6 separate regions of the Homo sapiens genome follow, and regions 1, 2, 3, 4 and 6 are each linked to region 5. The links are contacts of gene promoters, found by promoter capture Hi-C in blood cells and fetal thymus (Javierre and others, 2016). All regions are on one chromosome and are shown on one strand. Each heading gives the region's core, a stretch centred on a gene start or on the middle of the fragment in contact. The rest is flanking DNA. Distances are from core to core; before and after follow the strand shown.

Region 1 (2,700 bases), core at 24-2,523, 1.2 Mb after region 5:
GAACACATGTGATACATCATATCAACAGAATGAAGGACAAAATCCATAAGATCATCTCAGTAGATGCAGAAAACGCATTAGATGAAACTCAGTCTTTTCATGATACAAACTCTCAACAAACTAGGCATAGAAAGAACATACTTCAATATAATAAAGGCCGTATATGAAAAACTCACAGCTAACATCATCCTGAATGGGAAAAAGTTGAAATCCTTTCCTCTAAGAACTGGAACAAGACAAGTGTGCCCACTTTCAGCACTCTTATTTGACATACTACTGGAAATTATAGCTAGACCAATCGGCAATATAAAGAAATAAAAAGACATTGAAATTGGAAAAGAGAAAGTCAAATCGTCCCTGTTTGCAAATGGCATAATCTTATATCTAGAGAAACTTAAGGACTCTACCAAAAAACTCTTAGATCTGATAAATAAATTCAGGAAAGTTGCAGCATAGAATTTTAACATACACAAATGTAGCATTTCTATACACTAATAATGAACAAGCTGATAAAGAAACCAAGAAGGCAATCCCATTTGCAATAGCTATAAAAATAAAAGACTTAGAAATAAATTTAGCCAAGGATGTGAAAGGCAGCTTTTCTCTGCAAGAAAAGCTACAAAAGACTGATGAGGGAAATTGAAGAGGACACAGTCAAACAGAAAGCCATCTCAAGCTCATGTATCAGAAGAATCAACCTTGGCAAAACGACCATACTGCCCAAAGCAATCTACAAATTCAATGCAATTTCTATCAAAATGCCAACGTCAATTTTCACAGAAATAGAAAAAAGAATCATAAAATTGGTGTATAGAATCAACAAAGGGCTTGAATAACCAAAGTAATCCTGAGCAAAAAGAATAAAGCTGAAGGCATCACACTACCTGACTTCAAACCATATTACACAGCTATGGTAACCAAAACAGCATGGCATTGGTATTATAACAGACACATTGACTGATAGAGCAGAATAGAGAGCCCAGAAATAAACCTGCATACTTAAAACCAACTGATTTTTGACAAAAGTGCCAGGAACATACATTGTAGAGAAGATATCATCTTTAATAAATGGTGCTGGAAAAATTGGATATCCATGCAGAAGAATGAAATTGGACTACTGTCTCTCACCATATATAAAAAGCAGCTCAAGATGGATTATAAATTTAAATGTAAGACCTCGAATTATAAAGCTACTAGAAGAAAATGGGGAAAATATTTCAGAACATTTGTCTAGGCAAAGATTTTATGGCTAAGACAGGAAAAGCATAGATAACAAAAACAGAAATAGAGAAATGAGACTATGTTAAAATTGAAAAAACTGTACAGCAAAGAAAACCATCAAGACTTAGGATATCTGCTGAATGGAAGAAAATATTTGTAAACTATTTATCCAACAAGGGATGAATATCTAAAATATGCAAGGAACTCAAACAACTCAACAGTAAAAAAAAAAAATTCCATTGAAAAGTGGGCAAAGAACACAAATGGACATTTTTAGAAAGAAGACATACTAATGATCAACAGGTATATGAAAAAAATGCTTGTCGTTAATCATCAGGGAAATGCAAATCAAAATCAGAATGAGATACCATCTTACCCAGTTAGAATTGCTTTTATTAAAAAAGAGAAAAGGTAACAGATTCTGGCAAGAATATGGAGAAAAGGGAACTCTTATACACTATAGGTTGGAATGTAAATTAATGGGGCCACTATGGAAAACAGTATGGAGAATTCTCATAAAACTAAAAATAAAACTACTGTATGATCCAGCAATTCCCCTACTGGGTAATTATCTATAGGAAAAGAAATCATTATATCACAGGGATACCTGCACTCTCATGTTCATTGTGGCACTATTCACAAAAGCAAAGATATTGAGTCAACCTAAATGTCCATCAACAGATGAATGCATAAAGAAAATGTGGTATATAAACACAATGGATTACTAGTTGGCCATAAAAAATGAGATCTTGTCATTTGCAGAAACACGGATGGATCTGGAGGTTATTATGTTAAGTGAAATAAGCTCTGCACAGATTGAGAAATATCACATGTTCTCACTCATATGTGGGAGCTATAACAGTTGATCCCATGGAGATAGAGGTAGAAAGTAGAATGATAGATAACAGGATGGGAAGGGTGTGTGGGTTGGGGAGGATGGATGAAGAGAGATTGGTTAATGAGCACAAACATACAGTTAGGAGAAATAAGTTCTAATGTTCGATAGCAGAATAGGATGCCTAGAGGTAACAACAATGTAGTGTATGTTTCTTTTTCTTTCTTTCTTTTTGAGACAGAGTTTTGCTCTGTCTCCCAGGCTGGAGTGCAGTGGGGAGATCTTGGCTCACTGCAACCTCCACCTCCTGGGTTCAAGTATTCTCCTACCTCAGCCTCCTGAGTAGCTGGGATTACAGGCGCGTGCCACCACGTCCAACTAATTTTTGTATTTTTAGTGGAGACAGGGTTTCGCCATGTTGTCCAGGCTGGTCTCGAATTCCTGGCCTCAAGTGATCCACCCACCTCAGCCTCCCGAAGTGCTGGGATTACAGGCGTGAGACGCCACGCTCGGCCTGTAGTGTATCTTTCAAAATAGCTAGAAGAGAGGACTTAAACTTTCTCAACACATAGAAATAAGAAATACTTCGGGTGGTAGATACCCCTAATATCTTGACTTGATCATTACTCATTTTATGCATGTAA
Region 2 (2,700 bases), core at 163-2,662, 1.2 Mb after region 5:
TGTGGTGCAGTGGTGGTGGTGGGGTGTGTGTGTGTGTGTTTTCACACACGTGCAGAAGTCCATTTCAGGCAGCAGGAAACACCTGTGCAGCAGCCCTGAGGCAGGAGGAGAGGGCATGTGAGAGTGCTGAAAGACAGTCAGTGAGACTGGAGTCATCTAAGAGGGAGTGCATAGACGAGGTGGCAGAGGAAGGAGGGCCAGACTAGGCAGGATCTTGTAGGTGTCTGAACGTTGTTCTAAGTAGAGGTATAATATAACCTTAAATTCTTAAATTGTATATATATTGATGACATCTGGCTTTTGAGTCCCGGAGTTCCTAGGTCAGCTCCCAGCTACTCCCTGAAGCGTAAGGCTCAGGTAGGTGCTTCCAAACACCCCTCACAGTGTGAAAAGCGTGGAACTGCCCATTTCTCTGACTTTTTCTGATAATTATAATCTGGAAGCTACTAAAATAAAGAACAACGGGGCACACATTTGTGAATACATATTCATTGTATGAAATAGGAAAAAAACATAAAAACTTATATACCTACTAATAAGAATGGTTAATTCTGGGTAATGTGACAGATCAAAATTATGAAGACATTATAAATCATGTTTACAATTTGGAAAAAGAGGTTGGGTGCAGTGGCTCATGCCTACAATCACAGCACTTTCAGAGACTGAGGCGGGTGGATCACTTGGGGCCATGACTTTAAAACCAGCCTAGCCAACATGATGAAACCCCATCTTTACCAATACACAAAAATTACCCAGGCATGGTGGTTCACACCTATAATTCCAGCTACTTGGGTGGCTGAGGCAGGAGACTCGCTTGAGCCTGGGTGGTAGAGGTTGCAGTAAGCCAAGATCTCACCACTGCATTCCAGCCTGGGTCACAGAGACTCTGCCTCAAAAATAATAATAATAATATTAATAAGTAGGAACAATAAACATTTGATCTCAGCTATAAAAAGTTGCAAGAAATGGGAAATACTAAAAATTGTTGACAGTGGTTCTCTGTGAGTGGTTGCATACTGGGCAAGTTTTACTCTAGAGTATATTAACCTTTTCCCAAGCTTTCTACTGATACTTCAGTAATTGTATTTTAGGTTGGAAAAGGAACATCAGAAAGTATATCCTCACTTTCACAAAAATATTAAGATGTAAGAGGAAACTTACTCATAATTGAGGACAGTCAGTCTTTACTGGTGAAATTAAAACAATGATTTATTTAGGAAGGGATGGAGCAAGATGGCAGAGTAGGACGCTTCAGCAATTTTCCCCAGCAGAAACACCAATTTGAACAAGCATCCATACTATAACATACCTTCACAAGAGCTAAATAAGCCATATAAGAGATTACACTATCTGGTTGCAGCACAATAATAAGAAAAGTCACATTGAAGAGGGTAAGAAGGGCAGTTTTATATTACCCCGTCATCCTTCCCTCAACCCTAGGAAGCACAGCAAGGAGAGAGACACCATACCTTTAGCTCCAATGCTAGGATTGCCAAAGTAAAACCTAACACTGGTGAGACCACCACAACCCCATGTTCCAGGCTAGTGCGCATAGACTGAAGCTCTAGATCCAGCCTGGTGCCAAGCAGGATCACATAACCCGAGGCTTCAGGCTTTCAAGGCAAACTCAATCTCTGGGCTGCACCAATGCCAGGCTGATGTCAGCAGTCCAGGGCTCTGGACAGCTCACAATACCAGGGATATCTCAGTGAACTTTGGCTTCAGATTGCACCACTCCTGTGCTGGCCACATCTGCCAAAAGCTTCTGGCCTGCCTCAGTGCTCAAAGTGCTGAAAGAAACCCTGCCAGCCAAGAATACCAAACCCCACAAAGCTGTCCTTCAGAAATGAAGAAGAGATAAAGCCTGTTCCAGAAAAACAGAAGATAAGGGAGTTCATGACTACCAGAAGTGTTTTACAAAAAATGGTAAAGGGAAGTCTTCAATCTCCAAAAAAAAAAAAAAAAAAAGGATGCTAAGGAGTAACACAAAACAATCTGAAAGTCTAAAACTCACTTAAAAGTAAGTACACTGACTAAAGATATAAGCAATTTATGCAGCATCATCACAGAATTAAAGTATTCTGGATTTTGTGTAAAAGTTAAAAGACAAAACTATTAAAAATCATAGTAGCTGCAATAATTTTTAAGCAATAGACGATATAAAAAGATAAAACTTGTGACATCAAATATTCAAAATGTGAGGAGGGGACTGGAATAAAAGCATAGAGGCTTGTTAGGTTTCTTTTTGTTTGTTTGTTTTTGCGATCAAACTTGTTATCAGCTTAAAATACCGCATTGTAAGATATTTTTTTGTAAGCCTCATGGTAACAACAAAGCAAAAACCTATAGCAGATACATAAAAAGGCAAGGAATCAAAACATACCACTAGACAACAACATAATTTAGCCACAAAAGAAGATAGAAAGAAAGGAAGAAAATATCTACAAAACAACTAGAAAACAACAAAATGACAGTATTAACTACTTACCTATGAATGATAACCCTGAACGTAAGTGGATTAAGTTCTCCAATAAAAAGGCAAAGTAGTTAAATGGATTTTTAAAAACACTCAACTTATGCTGCCTATAAGAGGCTTGCTTCACCTGTAAGGACGTAGACTGAAAATGAAAGAACAGAAAATGATACTCCATGCAAATAGAAACCAAAAGAAAGCAGAAGTGGCTATACATATATCAGATT
Region 3 (2,700 bases), core at 107-2,606, 1.1 Mb after region 5:
TAATTATGTCTAAGCTAACCCAGGTAAAACCCATGTAAAGCTTGCCTGCTTTATATCCTAATTAGATTGTAAGCTTTTTAAGGACTACATTTTCTTTTTTTTTTTTTTTAAGATGGAGTCTTACTCTGTCGCCCAGACTGGAGTGGTGCGATCTCGGCTCACTGCAACCTCCAACTCCTGGGTTCAAGCAATTCTCCTGCCTCAGCTTTCCAAGTAGCTGGGACTACAGGTGTGCGCCGCCACACCCAGCTAATTTTTGTATTTTTTAGTAGAGACAGGGCTTCACTATATGTTGGCAAGACTGGTCTCGAACCCCTGACCTCAGGTAATCTGCCTGCCTTGGCTTCCCTAAGTGCTGGGATTACAGTTGTGAGCCACCACGCCCAGCCAGCACTACCTTTTCTATTGTGCATCCTAATGGTCTGTAGTATAGACATATTTATAGGGGAAAGAAAGGAATAGATGTGGGCAAAAAGAAGCTAAAAAACATTCCATGTCCAGTTATATCTTGTTAGCGTCACTTTTAACCTGTGAAATCCCATTTTAGCAATGAGACACATCCTAGAGGTAAAATAAACAATTTGGATTATATACAATATAGTTTTAAATTATCTGCAATATGATGTCTATATTGGCACCATTCATTCATTCATTCATTCAGTAGTCACTGAGAGATTGCCTACCATGCTCCCTTTATTTGGAATCAGTAAGGTACTGCCAAATTAAGAGTTGTGCTCTCTACTCCTGATACCCAGTGTGAAATGTTTTAGCTTTTTAAAATTTCATAAATGAAACAAATGAGGAAAGTAAGATTTCCTACATAATTGGAGTTGAGACCATTTATCACTTCTATAAAACTAAGCTTCCCAAATAAAAAGTATAACAAAGAATATGGAGAAACAAGAGGCATAAGTCACTATGGTCCATACTTAAAGATAGTTGGAACATATTTTCTTAAAGGTAGTTGGAACATATTTCACTAATTTATCCTAGACTTACTAAGAGAGATAAAAGAACCTTACCAAGTAAACTTCAGGTAAAAGCTGAAATCTACATATGCCACAAATGGAAAATTCCACACCTGACCTTGTGATAGGCTGCAGTCAAGCCACAGTCAATATTTTGTTTCATGCAAAAATTAAAACTATTGTATAAAATTATATTCAGGCTATGTGAATAAGGTGTGTATGAAACAAATGAATACTGTGTTTAGACTTGGGTCCTATCCCCAAGATATGTTATTATGTATATGCAAATATTCCAAAATGTCAAAAGTGCTTGGGACATTTCTGGTCACAAGCACTTTGGATAAGAGAGCCAACCTGTTTTTATATTTCTCCCTCTCTAATTTACAAAAGAAAGGCTCTGAACCCACCTGAAGATATATCTGTAGCTGATGTCTGCTGCAGAGCCTGGCTTCTTTCAGAGACATGTTGCTCAGGCAGATTTTGAGTTGCCATGCTGGATTTCTGTGGAGTCACTGGAGTCAAGGACTGGGAGGAAGGCTGTGTGAGGTCATCAGGTGGGGGAACAGGAAAAACCACGGGCTTAGATGAACTCGACTCTTTATTTATAAGCAGCACATGGATAGGTCCTGAATGACTCTTTAGATTGATCTGGTATTTCTTTTGTCCATTCTGACCCTTTGAAGTTATTGGGTATAAACAAATGTATAATTATTAACATTTCTAGCTAACTTAAGACAGTACAATAAGACAGGCAAAGCTATTAGGGACTTACTAAATTCACATAACACAATAAAGTCATTAAGTCAAAACACAAAAGTAGAGACATAGAGTAGAATGTAATTTTGAGGGCTCTAAACCACTAGTTTCTAAAAAGTAAGCTTTTCACAAATACTGATCATTAGAAACTCTCTGTTGTAGAATTCTGGCAACCATCTGTTGTTACCGTGTGTGACTATATAATAGGTCAGGGCCCAGCAATGCTCCAGGTATTCTCCATATACAGGAAATTTATCCCCTGGAGTTGGCCACCACAGATCTGGTCAGTTCAACATGCTTCACAAATCAAACTCTTTTTTTTCCCATCTGCAAGCACAAAGACAACTAATTTCTCCTACTGAGAAATAAATATAACATTCTTCCAGCTGAAAAAGTAATCTGTATCCTGAGGCTTCAGACTCCAGTAATACAAATGCCTAAATGTAAACTTTTTTAATAAGCGGGTGGGGGAAGGAGGTAGATAATATAGTAATCTTTTTCTACTCCCTTTTTTGGTTATTGCTTTCAAATTAGTTTGTTTTTAAAAATCTGAATCTGAAAACGAAAATCATGAAACTCATAGAGTCAATAAATGTCTTTGACTTAATAAGCCAGACAATGTTTTATAAAAGACCTAATTTAAAGGAATTGATTGTTGATATGTACATTGAACTTTTTCCTCAGTGGCAATTTTTATATCAATTGTAGATGTGTTGTTGTTGTTGTTGTTTTGATACAGAGTTTCACTCTTGTTGCCCAGGCTGGAGTGCAATGGCGCGATTTCGGCTCACTGCAACCACTGCCTCCTAGGTTGAAGCAATTCTGCTGCCTCAGCCTCCCAAGTAGCTGGGATTACAGGCATGCACCACCATGCCCGGCTAATTTTGTATTTTTAGTAGAGATGGGGTTTCACCATGTTGGTCAGGCTGGTCTTAAACTCCTGACCTCAAGTGATCCACCTGCCTTGGCCTCCCAA
Region 4 (2,700 bases), core at 28-2,527, 1.1 Mb after region 5:
TTCCTCTCTGCAACCTGCTCCTTCCCAGACTTGCACATTTCAGTAAATGGCACCACCAGCCTCCAATATGCTTACATCGAAACCTTAAGAGTGTTTCTAAACTCCTGTTTTTCCTTCCTTCAATCATGACATCCTTTTCATCAGCAAACCCTATTGACTTTATCTCCCAAACATCATAGATTTGTCCAGCTCTCTTCGTCTCCACCACCCCCAGAGTCCAAATTACTGTCACTGCTCACTTGAATGACTTCCATAACCTTCTAGTTTTTCTCCCTACTTCAACATTTGCCTGACAGCGGCCTCCTCTCTACCCAGCAGCTAGTTATATTTTGTAAAATATAAAGCAGAACATGTCATTCCCCTGATCAAAACCTTCCATTGTCTTCTTCCCACTGCATTACAGATAAACTTCAGACTGCTTACAATGCCCAACAGTACCCGATGTGGCATGGTCCCTGCCTGCCTCATCAGGACAGAGCACATAACTTTTCCTTTCTCATTAATTCCAATCCTAATAGGCCAATGACTTTCTCCTCTTGAACATGCCAGCCTCACTCCTGCCTTAGAGAACTTGAGCTTGCTGCTCCCACTTCCTGGAAAGGTCTCTCTAGATTTTTCTCTTAATGCTTTCTTCTTATCAGTCAGTCTCAACTCATGTATCACCTCAAAGAAGCTTTTCCTAAGCCCTCAGCCACTCTACCAGATCACATGGTATTGTTCCCATCAAAGAACTTACCATGCACCATTTATTTATTTGCTTATTGTCTACCTCTCCCACCCCACCAAGCCTGAGGTTTGACCCAGACTTTCTCTATCTGCATTTCCTATCTCAACCTAGAAACATGGATCCTGCCCTCCCTCACTCTCAAACCCACCAATCGACAAATGCCACTAAAGCTGCCACTGCCAGCCAGCCAGCCTCTACCTGCACTCTCATTTATTGCCTGGAACTTTCCCCAAAAGTTTCCTCCAAAGCTCCCCTTAGCCACTCCTGCTTCCATCCAATCTATTCTCAAACAGTAGTTGAATTATTTTTGAAATGCAAATATCACCACTTCCCAATGGAAAGCCTTTCAGTGGCTTCCCATTGCACTTAGAATCACCTTCATAAACCTTACCAGGACTTACCTCAGTAAGATCAGGCCCTTCCCAGCCTCTCCAACTTTGCCTCTGACAACTCTCCCCTTCATTCTCCAAGCTCCAACTACACTGTTAAAGGCCATACTGTTTTTCAAATGTATGAGCCTCCTTCCCAACCCACATCCTCACACATGATTTTATGCAAAACCACTGCTGTCCCCCCACTTGACCTAGTTCCCTCCCCTTCAACCAAACCAGGTTTTAAGTTAAACCAGGTTTAACTTAAAACGGATGCCTATCCCACAGGGCAGCATTTTCTGACCTCAAATATGTGTGAGGCTGCACTCCTTTCAGGGTAAGCATCAGTAAGCTGTGTAAAGATTAGGAGCATGGTTGATTCTCAATGAATTCTTACTGAGTGAAAGAATGAATGAATATATAAGCCAATGAAATAAGAAGCAATCATCCCTCCTTGGCCTCCCAAAGTGCTGGGATTACAGGCATGAGCCACTGCACCCACCCTTGGAATTGTATACTGTTCTTTAATATGCATTCAAGGAGTTTCAGACCAGCCTAGGCAAGATGGCCAGACTCTGTCTCTATAAAAAATAATTAGCCAGATGTAGTGGTGCCCACCTGTGGTCCCAGTTGCTCTGGAGGCTAAGGTGGGAGGATCCCTTGAACCCAGGAGGTCAAAGCTACAGTGAGCCATGTTTGTACCATGGCACTCTAGCCTGGGCAACAGATCGAGAGCCTGTCTCAAAGAAAAAGAAAGAAAAAAGAAAATCTATTCCAAGCTTTATCCACAAAGCTTTATCTTTAAATGCTGGTGCTGGTCATAGTTTCTTTGTTAGATTCTCTCATTTAAAAACAAACAAACATATATATATATATACACTGGCCGGGCGCGGTGGCTCACGCCTGTAATCCTAACACTTTGGGAGTCCGAGGCAGACAGATCACCTGAGGTTGGGAGTTCGAGACCAGCCTGACCAACATGGAGAAACCCTGTCTCTACTAAAAATACAAAATTAGCCAGGCATGGTGGCGCATGCCTGTAATCCCAGCTACTCGGGTGGCTGAGGCAGGAGAAGCACTTGAACCCAGGAGGCAGAGGTTGCAGTAAGCCAAGATCGCACCATCGCATTCTAGCCTGGGCAACAAGAGCAAAACTCTGTCTCAAAAAAAAAATAAATAAAATACTGTTTGTTTAAAGCATGCATAAAAATGTATGTCTTAAAATATACTTAAAAATTCCAAGATGCTTCTGATTTGTGTAATATTTACCTGGAGGACTCATACTTAGGTGTCTTAACATGAATTGAGTCTCCAAGGTCTCCATGTGAAACAAAAGAAGGGAAAATAATTATCTGTAATGTTGTAAGTTGTACCTAAGTTTTTTAATAAGTGAAATTTGCATTATAAATTTTTTCCATTTATAAATACATAAGTGAACCAAAGGTTTTGGTCCTTTCCTTCACTGGTTTGCTTTAAAATAAATAAATAAATAAAAGATAATTATTTATTGCAGAACAACAACAACAAAAAAGTCTTTGTCTACAAAAATGGCCCTTGATCTGCAGGTAAAGACTCTGAGCCTCTGACATATGTCAGGAGGAC
Region 5 (2,700 bases), core at 39-2,538:
TTGTTCCACATTAACCTACACACACACAGAAAAAAATTTGTTAAACTTATCAAATAGAAAAAGAAGGCAAAATCAAGCCCCTGGAAAATATTTTATTCTGAAAGAGTAAAAATGTCAAAATTATAACAGACACTACTCTTCTTTGGTAATGAAGGTTTCATATATTTACCACAGCAGAGAAAACTCCAAATCGGCAGAGCAAAGAAAGGACTGTGAACAAGACTGATCATTTAAAGGTCGTAAAGGTAAGGAGCAAACTACAAAATTAAATTTTTTTAAAAAAAGAACACGAAGATGAAAGGAGAGTCTGTAAGTCACAGACAAGATAAGGACTGGTAAAATCTGCAAGGTCACTGGAACCTACCAGGTCACAAAAGGTGGAGGTGGGGGTTGCGCTGGGGGGGCGGGGGATGGGGAGCTGCAGAGTCGGTGAAGAACGGAGAGTGATAAAAACATGTCAGAAAAAGACGTTCCAAAGCTGGAGTCCTTGGTTTGCAACGCTGAAATTGGGGTGAAAGTCAGGGAACGGGCAATGAGTCCATGTATTTGTGTTTTCAGGGAGGTGTTAGGGAAAGGTGGAGGAAGGCGAAGAGAAGGCTAAGGAAGCCTAAGAACTGCGGCTGCAGAGTCACGGAAACACTTCGCTCCGCTCCAGGATCACTGGCACAGGCCTTTGCCAGGGCGAACTCCGGGCAAGACCCGTGACCCCACCCCAGAAAACTCCCGACTCCCGGGCTGGAGAAGGTAGCCAAGGTAGGGCGGACCGTCCCCCGACGGGTCCTAGGAGGGTCCAGCCCGGGGGCGGACGGCGCCGGGCGCCCAGCACCGCGGCCAAGGCTCAGGGCCCGTGCCCCCTCCCGCCCTGCCCATTCGCACCCCCAGCCCCGCGCCGCGCCGTCCTTACCCGGCGCGAAGCTGTCGGCTCCCGGCAGCCGGGCGGCCACGGCAGCGGCACCTCCTCCTGCGGCGGGCGCCCTCACCCTTCCGCGCCCAAGATCGCCATCTCGCAGCAGGCGCGGCGGCAGCAGCCACCCAGGCGTCGGCCCCGGCAGCCCAGGCCGCCAGCAGCCACTCGGAACCCGCACGCGGAGCTCGCCGACACCCGACCCTCCCCCCACCCCCACCCCGTCCACGCGCCACCCCCAGCCGACCCCACACCTCCCTTCCTCGGGAGCGCGCCGCGTGGCCGCGTCGCCGGCGCCGCGCCCTAAGCGCGCGCCTCCCCGCCGGCCCCGGCACCGCGCGCTACGCCGCGGCCGCCCAAAGCCTCCAACTCCGGACCCGGAATCCGCCTCCCCCGAGCATGCGCAGCGAGGGCGCTCGGATGCTGCCTTAGGAAAACTCCGCTCCTCCGGGTCTTCCGAGCAGTCTAGCGGAGGGGGACGGACAGCCAATAGTAGGGAGGGGCGGGGCCTGAACGTGTGGAAGGGGCGGGGCCGCCGCTGAGATTTGGGAAGAGGCTGCTCTAAGCTCGCGCTGGGCACTGCTAATTTGACTTTCCGGTCGGCGGCTGATCCCGGAGCAGGACTTCTTAAGGTCCGGGGGCAAAAGTAGGCTGTCCATAAATACTCCTTGACCTAGCTGGGTGACCTCGAACACATTGCAAGAGTAAATAATTGCATTTAGCCATTGGTCATACCCGAAGACTTTCAGTCCATTTTTTATTAATCAAAACGTTCATCTGTGGAAGCCCCACCACCTAGTCCTCACTCACATCAGCCCGGTGATAAAGCAGATACTTATTGACCGAGTATACGTGTCCGCACAATTAACGCACACAACAATCTGACAAAGTAGTGTCTACTGTCTGCATTTTACAGAAAAGTCAACTAGTTTAGAAAAGTACTGTTGGTTATGTGTATTGCTTTTAGAAGAAAGGCCAATGTGCAAATAGAAGTCAGTGGGACCACATTGCTTACCAGGTGACCCGGTTTCTACTTCAGAGAAGCAGAAGCCTTCAGGCATGGATTTCTACAGCTTTTGCCCAACCACCTGACCAACCCCCATAGATTATATCTACGTCCACACCCAGACTTACTAGTTTTCCTTCTATCTCGGAGGCTAGATGTCCCTGCTCCTCTCCACTGCCTGCTCCCCACTGTGGGCGGTCCTTGGCACATCTTTAACTTCACCCTCTCCACTGCCTACAACTCCTCAGCATAATCACGTTTTAAGATTAGGTCCTAAATTTTCCCTTGATTTTAAAACCTCTGGTTCTCTCTCCCCTTCCATTTTAACTGAGCTTTTTGAAAGAACTGTGTACCAAAAACAACCCCAACACTTCATGAGTGTGTACAGAATTCAACAAGTATCTCTTGACTGAACAATGCACATTCCCGCCTACCTCCATGCATTAGTTCTTGTCCTCTGGCTTCATAGTTGAAATTGGTGCACATTATATCCACAAAGATCATTCGAAAATATACATCTGTGTCATTCCACTGCTTAAAATCATTCTTTGGCTTTTCGGAGCTCTCCTGACAAAGATTAACGTGATATTCAAGGTTCCTTTGATGCTCACATGCTCTATCTCTCCTGTTATGAAAAACTCTTCACAGTGCCCCATATGTGCCCACTCATCTCTGCTTTAAACATGTACTAAGATTTTCTTCATCTTTTTGCTTTTGCTGTCTGGTCCCTTTAAATAGATGCAATAATGTGCTTACAAACACGTCCTCAGAAATTCCGTAGGTATTCCCC
Region 6 (2,700 bases), core at 116-2,615, 1.1 Mb after region 5:
TATTTATGTGTACAACATGATGTTTTGAAATATATGCACATTGAGGAATGGCTAAACTAAGCCTTAATTTTGACAGTTATTCACTATAAGGCTTTTTGGTGTCACTGCGATTATTTCAAATAATTATTATTTAAACAATCAGTTCAGTTTAACGTAGGAACAAGAAAAAATGTTTTACTTTTGATAATGTGTGATATACAAGAAGAAAAGTGTATGTCATTATTATTTATCCTATTAATACATTTCTATCAATGAATTATAATTTCAGTAATCCTTTGCTCACCCTGCAAGGATGAGCGTGGAGAAGAAGAGTGGAGAAGTAACCCACAATGTAACTTAATTTCCCAGCGAGAACCTGAACCCTTACTAAAGTCCCCAGTAGTAGTCAGCCAACTGCAAATTGCTGTGGGAATATTTACAGTAACAACTATTAGGAAACATGCAGTATTTTGTTTGCCACGAAGCCAACTTAATCTTCAGTGTCACAATGCAAGTTAAGATTTCCTAAATATATTTTTAAAGATTTTCTATGATTTGTTTCTCCTAAGTGAATAGTGAGCTTAAAAGACTGAAAGCGAACTTGTCCTTATTTCACTGAAGTGTGTCATCAGACTTCTGATCTCCAAGCCTGTAATTGATACGTGGCTGTTACTAGGCAAAGTCCTTGGCTTTTCAGATGAAGGTGAACTCACACGTATGAACACTTGGGAGTTTGGGGAATCCTGACAGAGATAACACACACCAACGCTCACATCCACCACCAACAACCCGTCTACCCTGACAAGACTGCTCTCCGCTTCTCGCACTGGGCTCCCAGGAGTGCTGCTTAGTTTAAAGAGGAACCGAAAAAGTTTCTCAATGTGCGAGCCCAGTGTGTGGTCAGCGAGCGCCGGGGCGTCGCGCTAGTCCTCTCGTCCCCCGCACAAACCCCCCCTTGGATCAGGAAAAGGCGCTCACCGTTGTGCTCGCGGTATCCCCAGCTGAGCCTCGACATGGTCCCTCGGGGTGGAAGGAAGAGAAAGATGTGACTGAGCAGCGAGAAAGAGGAGGGAGCGGGGAGGGGCCCGGGAAGGAGCCTGCTAGGGCGGGACCGCGGGGCGCCGGCGGCAGGAGTGCGAGACCGTGAACCCGGTCCGGGGCGCTCCCGCCTGCGTCCTCCAGACGGCAGAGGCGTGCGGGGAAGGCGCCCGCGCCGCTGGCTGACTCCTGGGGCGCGAGTCTCTCTTAGTTTGGACTCGGGAATGAGAGATTTGAGTTAGAGGGAGAGACGGAGAGAGAAAGGTTTCCGGGGGGGATCTCCTGCCTTCTGAGGAGTCGTCACTCGGGAGAGGAAAGTGTTGCCTAGAGGACTTCCAGGAAGTGAATGAGTCACCAGAGCCTGGAACTGCCAGGCTGGGAGGTGGGGATCCCGGTGGAGGCGTAAAAGAGGTCGGTGATGGTCGTGGCAGTGATGATTACAAATACAAAACAATAATGACGATGGTAATCACCACCACTGAAAAATAACTACTTATTAAGGGCTTATCGTGGGCGAGGGTCTTAGCTAAGACGTGTACCCACGTTTTCCCATTAGATCCTCTCAGCATTTCCTCGAGAAACACGTGGCTTAAGTTAGAGACACTATGTAACCTGCCCCGGGTCGCTCAGCTAAAGCGGGCGGGGTCGCTGTTAGAGAGGACCAGCTCCCGGTCCTGGGCTGGCTCCATTGCCCATTCATCCTTTCCTTACCTCTTCTCACTCTGCAGGCTTGTGGCTTGGTGAGTGAGGAAACCAAAACCAGTTGTTGAGATTTGGTCCCAAAATTCTGCTGCCCTCCTGACCCCGCAAGAAGGGTTTTCAGGACATCTGCCCTGGATTCTTGGTGGGCTTGTTACCCTAGGACTGGAGTCAGAACTAGCTGCAGAGTCTTGAATTTCTGGCCTGGAGTCGTGAATGTTCTGGGTTCAAAGTGAAAAATAAAAATTGGGTACATGAACCACTTTCTACGTCCTTGTCTCGGGTCAACTGCCTCATATTTTATAAATCCAAGCAACCTCTTTGTAAGGAACCTAGTAAACCAATTTTCAGTAACTCGGATGATTTGGTATGTCAAGATGAATAATGCTCTTAACGTTCTAAGTAAGTATCAGTTCTTGACACCCAATAATAGTGGTTACATGAATGGATGAATGACTGAATAGACCAAAATTGTTAAAGAAATTTTGGTTGGTGGGTCTCAAATACTTCCCAAATTGTTACTTTTATTGCTTGGGTACACAGTTTGTAACCACCCAATGGGTTTACCTTGCCCACTGTCAAGACACAGCTGATTTATCAAGACAGGGGAATTGCAATTCATAAAGGGAAATTCACGTAGAGCCGGCTGTGCAGAGGACTGGAGTTTTATTATTACACAAATCAGTCTCCGCAAGCATTGGGGATCAAAGTTTTTAAGGACAATTTGGTGGGTGGAGGAGAGCCAGTAAGTCGGGAGACCTGGTTGTTTGGGTCAGAGGTGAAATCATAGGGAGTCAAAGCTGTCTTGCATTAAGTCAGTTCCTGGGTGGGGGCCATGGGATCAGATGAGCCAGTTTATCGAGCTGAGTGGTGCCTGCTGATCCATCCAGTGCAGGGTCTGCAACATATCTGAAGCACTGGTCTTAGGCTTTACAATAGTGATGTTATTCCCAGGAGCAATTTGGGGAGGGTCAGAATCATACA

Evidence for each region. The method cuts DNA at HindIII sites, captures the fragments that hold promoters and counts their contacts. A CHiCAGO score of 5 or more calls a contact.
Region 1: a fragment that was not itself captured here is called in contact with the fragment with the promoter of WWP1 in region 5 in 1 of 17 cell types (fetal thymus); the score reaches 6.2 in fetal thymus.
Region 2: a fragment that was not itself captured here is called in contact with the fragment with the promoter of WWP1 in region 5 in 1 of 17 cell types (naive CD8 T cells); the score reaches 5.3 in naive CD8 T cells.
Region 3: a contact is called between a fragment that was not itself captured here and the fragment with the promoter of WWP1 in region 5, in 8 of 17 cell types (fetal thymus, monocytes, total CD8 T cells and 5 more). The highest score is 9.6, in fetal thymus.
Region 4: a contact is called between a fragment that was not itself captured here and the fragment with the promoter of WWP1 in region 5, in 1 of 17 cell types (monocytes). The highest score is 5.5, in monocytes.
Region 6: the fragment with the promoter of CA13 here is called in contact with the fragment with the promoter of WWP1 in region 5 in 6 of 17 cell types (activated CD4 T cells, M1 macrophages, neutrophils and 3 more); the score reaches 7.2 in activated CD4 T cells.

The regions. Positions count from the first base shown.
Region 1 is chr8:85,100,153-85,102,852 of GRCh38, reverse strand. The region is part of intron 1 of LOC105375933 (a long non-coding RNA gene); the gene reads left to right. Among named protein-coding and RNA genes, the nearest start is that of LRRCC1, 5.7 kb to the left of the region's middle. The HindIII fragment of the contact is 3,894 bases long and covers 1-2,700 here.
Region 2 is chr8:85,187,585-85,190,284 of GRCh38, reverse strand. The region is part of intron 1 of E2F5 (E2F transcription factor 5); the gene reads right to left. Among named protein-coding and RNA genes, the nearest start is that of E2F5, 12 kb to the right of the region's middle. RefSeq lists an enhancer at 336-405. The HindIII fragment of the contact is 704 bases long and covers 1,061-1,764 here.
Region 3 is chr8:85,208,085-85,210,784 of GRCh38, reverse strand. E2F5 (E2F transcription factor 5) reads right to left here. Exons shown (of 8, transcript NM_001951.4): 6 at 1,376-1,643. Among named protein-coding and RNA genes, the nearest start is that of RBIS, 11 kb to the left of the region's middle. The HindIII fragment of the contact is 984 bases long and covers 865-1,848 here.
Region 4 is chr8:85,261,005-85,263,704 of GRCh38, reverse strand. All of the region lies in intron 3 of CA13 (carbonic anhydrase 13), which reads right to left. Among named protein-coding and RNA genes, the nearest start is that of CA13, 17 kb to the right of the region's middle. The HindIII fragment of the contact is 1,204 bases long and covers 676-1,879 here.
Region 5 is chr8:86,341,135-86,343,834 of GRCh38, reverse strand. It overlaps WWP1 (WW domain containing E3 ubiquitin protein ligase 1), which reads right to left and starts at 1,288. Exons shown (of 25, transcript NM_007013.4): 1 at 905-1,288. It overlaps WWP1-AS1 (WWP1 antisense RNA 1), which reads left to right. Exons shown (of 6, transcript XR_007060994.1): 2 at 175-245; 3 at 559-753. RefSeq lists a silencer at 738-1,197. The HindIII fragment of the contact is 10,725 bases long and covers 1-2,700 here.
Region 6 is chr8:85,244,123-85,246,822 of GRCh38, reverse strand. CA13 (carbonic anhydrase 13) reads right to left here and starts at 1,365. Exons shown (of 7, transcript NM_198584.3): 1 at 958-1,365. The coding sequence starts at 994. RefSeq lists an enhancer at 561-670 and a silencer at 1,031-1,110. The HindIII fragment of the contact is 11,713 bases long and covers 1-2,700 here.